Linked DNA regions of Homo sapiens: region 2 is linked to region 1. The links are contacts of gene promoters, found by promoter capture Hi-C in human tissues and cell types (Jung and others, 2019). All regions are on one chromosome and are shown on one strand. Each heading gives the region's core, a stretch centred on a gene start or on the middle of the fragment in contact. The rest is flanking DNA. Distances are from core to core; before and after follow the strand shown. Region 1 holds the start of KCNK10 (potassium two pore domain channel subfamily K member 10). Region 2 overlaps KCNK10-AS1 (KCNK10 antisense RNA 1).

Evidence for each region. Contacts are between HindIII fragments. The study calls those that stand out against the background at their distance.
Region 2: a contact is called between a fragment that was not itself captured here and the fragment with the promoter of KCNK10 in region 1, in 1 of the 25 tissues and cell types used here (dorsolateral prefrontal cortex).

The regions. Positions count from the first base shown.
Region 1 is chr14:88,321,742-88,324,573 of GRCh38, reverse strand. It overlaps KCNK10 (potassium two pore domain channel subfamily K member 10), which reads left to right and starts at 1,305. Exons shown (of 7, transcript NM_138317.3): 1 at 1,305-1,827. The coding sequence starts at 1,776. RefSeq lists enhancers at 668-727, 1,300-1,959 and a silencer at 778-1,017. The HindIII fragment of the contact is 9,751 bases long and covers 1-2,832 here.
Region 2 is chr14:88,169,364-88,172,285 of GRCh38, reverse strand. The region is part of intron 1 of KCNK10-AS1 (KCNK10 antisense RNA 1); the gene reads right to left. Among named protein-coding and RNA genes, the nearest start is that of KCNK10-AS1, 10 kb to the right of the region's middle. The HindIII fragment of the contact is 4,258 bases long and covers 1-2,922 here.

The sequences.
Region 1 (2,832 bases), core at 56-2,555:
GGCCAGCACATAGCACAGTGATGGCACTTGGAAGGGGTTCAATATATATGTTGAATGAACAACAAATTTTAGTAACCTTATCTGGAAGCCAGAGTAGGGGTTTAAACTACTTCCTATCCAACACTGCAGCATGCAATTCATGTCTTCATTTAGCAAGTATTTCTTGAGCACCTACTACGTGTAAGGCTCCGTTGCGAGGCATCCGAAGCAATTTGTCAGCATCATTCATGTTGATACTCGGAGTGACCCGTTCAAGAGCACCTCAGCACCACCTGGCTTTTCTGAAGACTGAGGCCCCACCACAAACCCCTGTGGGGCTTCAAGCAGGGGCAGTGAGAGGGCGTTAGACGAATGCTCCAGGTTTAGCCCCTTTCCGGGAACAGGTCTGGGTCCCTTCGCATCTGCCCTGCTGGTCCCAGGATCCCGGGGCCGCCGCTTCCGGGAGCTGCCGGGTCTTGGCAACTCCGCTTTCCTCCGGGGGCCCCCGTGCCTCTCTCAAGCCTCCTTTCCAGCCAACGACCAGCGGCCCCAGTCCGGCTGCAGGTAGCTGGGGAAGGGACCAAGCTGTGCCTTGGGAGCGAGCTTCCCCGGGCGGGGAGAGCGCAGCAGATGCGGAGCGGTCCCAGAACAAAAGGCTCATGGCTGGCACGGGCCTCCTTGGAGTGCGGCGGGGACGTGGGTTCGGGACTCAGGCGAGAGAGCCAGACGCGGGAGGAAAAAAAATGAAGTGAGAAAAGAGAAGGAGGGAGAGCTCAGGGTGAGAGCGGTGAGAAGAGGTGACCCGGAGGCCGAGGTCTGCGGCGGAGCCGCAGCGGCCCTTCCTCCGCCTCCTGCAGCGCCTTCCAGGCAACCAAGCGTGTCTCCGGCTGCAACTCCAGCAAGCGCGCCGCTGCCGCCTCCACGCCCGCCCGCCGGCCGGCCGAGCCAGTAAGTAGCGGCGCGCCCACCGCTCGTTCCCCGCCCCTCCGCGGCTTCCCCGCCACCGCCCACCGCCTCCCGCCGCCCCGCGGGCAAGTCCGCGACCGCCTCCCGCTGCCCCGAGCCGGGTGCCGGGGGCTCAGCGCGCCTTCCCAGCTGGGAGCCTCGGTCCGCTGCTCGCCCTGCTCCCTCTTGCCGGGGCGCGGCGTCTGGGGCGCGCCGCGGGGAGGGTCGCCCTCGCCGCGCGCTGCCCGGGCGCCGCGCCACCCCTACATCCAATGGCTTTCGGGGAGCGGGAAGTGGGGGGCGTCGCCGGGGGCGAGGAGCCGCGGCCGGGGTGGGGCGTGTGCGCTCAGCGCGGCCGAGCGAGGCTGACGTGCCCGCCCAAGCGCGCGCCCGGGAGTGTGTGTGCGGGTGTGTGTGTGCGGGAGTGTGTGCGCACACGCCTTCGGGGGCTGGAGTGACACTGCAGTGGGCTTCTCCGTAGCCCCAGCCTTCAGGCTGCGCAGCCCCTAACCTGCCGGCACCGCTTTTGGGAAGCAGCTTGGCTCTTCCATCTCCCCAAGCCTTCCTCTCCATCCTTTCATCCACCCCTCGCCGATCTTACTTTTTCTTTTACCCACGGGGCCGCGGCCGGCCACCCCCTGGCCGGTGCAAACACCCAAGCCCTCTCCAGTTCTCCCCCAAGCTAATATTTTCCCACCTGTCTTTTTCTGGGGTTCCTCCACGAGCCAGTCCAAGGCTCCCCCATCCTCGGAAATTGTTTTGTTGGACTGCTAAACCGAGGCGTGTAAAGCTTGAGGACTTTATTATTATTTGGGTTCTTTTCATTTCTTCCCCTTCTGGGCAACGAAGCAATGAAATTTCCAATCGAGACGCCAAGAAAACAGGTGAACTGGGATCCTAAAGGTGGGTGTTTCCTACTTTTGGCTGCCCTCGCCCTGCCTCTGTCTCCGGCGTGTGCGCGCTTCCTTGAGTGGAAGCACTCTTGCTTCTGGCAGCGTGTGTCCTGAGGCTGGGAAATGCGCCTGGGAACTGCAGCGCGGGTGGGAGGAGGGCGGAGGCAGCGTGGGTTCCGAACCCAGATAGTGCCTGTCATTACCACATAATCATTGTCCCTCCTAGATTGTCTCCAGATCTATTTAGATAGACCAAGCCGACTGTTTGGTTTGAAATTGCAAGTGTCGGTATTTGCTTTTGACTTTGAGTGTGCGAGTGTGTGTGTGTGTGTGTGTGTGTGTGTGTGTCCTTTGTTTCTGGTGATCTTTGTCTCTCTGGCAGATGGGTGGGGTGCTTCCCCCTGGACCTGGAGCTGCGCCGCATGCCCGGGTGTCCTCAGTGGGAAAGGTTTCCTGGCAGCAAGTGGGGCTCGAGTTGCAGCAGCCGTCCCTAGGGGTGGGCCGTTCTCGCAGGGCATGCAGAATAATGGAGCCCACAGGGCCTCCTGAGTCTTCGTTCAATCTTATTACCAAACCTAGCAGCTAGTTAGGCTCAGGTCAGAGTAGAAGCAGGAGGAGGGGTGGTTTGTGAGAAGGGTGGGGCTGGCAAGGCATAGGGGAGGGGCACGAAGTGTGCCCGCCCAAGCAATGGTGTGGTTTGCATGCTTTTACGAATGTTGGACCAGGTTTCATCCACGCAAAAGGGAGGGATTAAGACGGATTTGTGTGTGCCTAGCGTCGGCCACCGTGTCTGTAATTAGCATACAGATGTTAAGGCTCCAAGGGAGTGATCAGTATGAGAGCAGAACAAGTTGGAACCGCGTGTCCAGTTGTGACAAGAATGCTCTTTAGCATTTCTTGTAGCTCATCTGACGACTGTGTCAGGCTAGGCAACGCCTCTGTGTGTATTGGAATTGAAATTTGTTTATTTGGGGTGCGTGTGTGTTTAATGTTCTTTATGAGCGCATTTCTTCTT
Region 2 (2,922 bases), core at 38-2,537, 150 kb after region 1:
TCATGAAAGGATACTAGATTTTATCAAATGCCTTTTCTGTATCTATTGAGATGATCATATGGGTTTTGTTTTTACTTCTGTTTATGTGGTGAATCACATTTATTGATTTGTGTATATTGAACCATCCTTGTATCCCTAGAATTTTCTTTTGATGTGCTATTGGATTCAGTTCACTGGTATTTTGTTGAGGAACTTTATGTCTATATTTACCAAAGATATTGGCCTGTATCTTTCTTTCTCTGTTGTGTCCTTGCCAGATTTTGGTAACAGGATGATGCTGATTTCATAGGATGAGTTAGGAAGGAATCTCCCCTCCTTGATTTTTGGGAATGGTTTCAATAATATTGGTACCAGCATTTCTTTTTACATTTGATAAAATTTGGCTGTGAATCTGTCTTGTCTTGGGCTTTTTTTTCCTGTTGAAATATTTTAAATCACAGATACAATTTTGTTACTCTTATTGGTCTGTTCAGGACTGCTGTTTTTTCCTGATTCAGTCTTGGAAGGTTGTATGTCTCTAGGAATTTATTAACTTCCTCTAGATTTTCTAGTTTGTGTGCACAGAAAAGTTCATAGTAGTCTGTGATGATCCTTTTTACTTTCTGTGCATTTGTAATGTCATCTTTATTATTTCTGGTTCTGTTTATTTACATTTTCTCTCTTTTTAATGTGGTTATTCTAGCTAGTGGTCTATCAATTTTGTTTATCTTTTCAGTGAACCAACTTCATTTCACTGATCCTTTGTATAGTTTTTTTTGGTCTCAATGTCATTGAGTTCTGTTCCAATCTTTGTTATTTCTTTTCTTCTGCTAGCTTTGGGTTTATTCTTATTTTTATAGTTTCTTGATGTGTGATGTTAGGTTGCTAATTTGAGATCTTTCTTTTTGATGAAGGCATGAAATGCTATAAACTTCCCTCTTAATACTGTTTTTTCTCTGTTCCAGAGGTTTTTGTATGTTGTGTCTCTATTTTCATTTGTTTCAAAAATATTTTTGATTTCTGTCTTAATTTCATTGTGTACTGAAAAGTCTTTCAGGAGCAAGTTGTTTAGTTCCCATGTACTTGTGTGGTTTTGAGAATTCCTTTTGGTAATGATATTTGATTTTAATCCATTGTGATATGAGAAGATACTTGATAGGATTTCATTATTTTGAATTTATTGAGACTTGCTTTACGGTTAAGGATATGGTCAATTTTACAGAATGTTTTATATGCAGATGAGAAAAATATTCTTCAGTTGCTGGGTGGTATGTTCTGTAGATGTTTATTAGGTCCATTTGGTCAAGAGTCCAGTATAATTCCAGAGTTTCTTTGTTAGTTTTCTGCCTTGATGATCTATCTAGTACTGTCAGTGGAATGTTGAAATCCTTCACTATTTTTGTATGGCTGTCTATATCTTTTCTTAGGTCTAGCAGAATTTGTTTTATAAGTCTGGGTGCTCCAGTGTTGGGTGTGTATATATTTAGGATAGTTAAGTCTTCTTTTCTAATTAAAGTATGTTTTATCTAAGAATAGCAATTCCCTACTGTTTTTTGTTTTTCATTTGAGTGATAAAACATTTTTCATCCCTTTACTTTGATATTATGGGTGTCTTTATACATTAAGTGGGTGTCTTGTAGGCAGCAGATGGTTGGGTCTAATTTTTTAAATCCAATTTGCCAATGTGTATACTTTAAGTGGAATATTTAGGCTGTTGACATCCAAGACTAATATTGACATGTGAGGTTTGTTTCTTTGTTAATATTGACACATGAGGTTTGTTTCTTAGTGTTGCTAGCTAGTTGCTTTGTAGTCTTAATTGTATAACTGCTTTATAGGATCTGTGAACTTTGCCCTTATGTGTGCTTTTATGTTAGTGAGTATTGTTTTGTCTTTTTGTTTCTGTTTAGAACTACTTTGAGCATTTATTGTAGGCTAGGTCTAGTGGTGATGAATTCCCTTTGCATCTACTTGTTTGTGAAAGACTTTATTTCTCTTTTGTTTATGAAGCTTAGTTTATTAGGATATAAAATTCTTGATTGGCATTTTTTTTTCTTTAAGAAGGCTGAAGATAAGCCCTCAATGTCTTCTGATGTGTAAAGCTTCTCCTGAGAAGTCTGCTGTTAGTCTGATGGGATTTTCTTTATAGGTGATTTGACCTTTTTATCTAGCTGACTTTAAGATTTTTTCTTTAGCATTGATCTTGATGGTCTGATGTCTGTATGCCTTGGTGATATTCATCTTATATAGTACCTTGCAGGTGTTTTCTGAAATTTTTGTAACTGAATGTCTACCTCTCTAGCAAGATCAGATAAATTTTCCTGAATTATTGCCTCAAATATCTTTTCCAAATTGCTTACTTTTTCTTCTTCTCCTGTCTCAGAAATGCCTATAAGTCATAGGTTTGGTCATTTTTACATAATTCCATATTCCTTGAAGGCTTTGTTCATTTTTTTAAAAAAATATGTTTATTTATTTTTATCTGACTGAGTTAATTCAAAGGACTGGTCTTCAACCTCTGAAATTCTTCTGCTTGATCTAGTCTATTGTTAAAGCTTTCAACTGTATTTTGAAATTGCTGTAGCAAATTTTTTATTTCCAGAAGTTTTGCTTGTTTTTAAATATAGCCACCTCAGTCGGGTGTGGTGGCTAATGCCTATAATGCCCGCACTTTGGGAGTCCAAGCAGGCAGATCACTTGAGTTTAGGAGTTTGAGATCAGACTGGCCAACATGGTAAAACTGTCTCTACTAAAAATACAAAAGCTAGCCAGGCGTGGTGGCCAGCACCGGTAGTCCTAGCTACTGGGGAGGCTGAGGCAGGAGAGTTCCTTGAATCCAGGAGGTGGAGGTTGCAGTGAGCTGAGATCGTGCCACTGCACTCCATCCTAGGTGACAGAGCAAGACCCTGTCTCAAATATGTATATATATATAACATATACGAG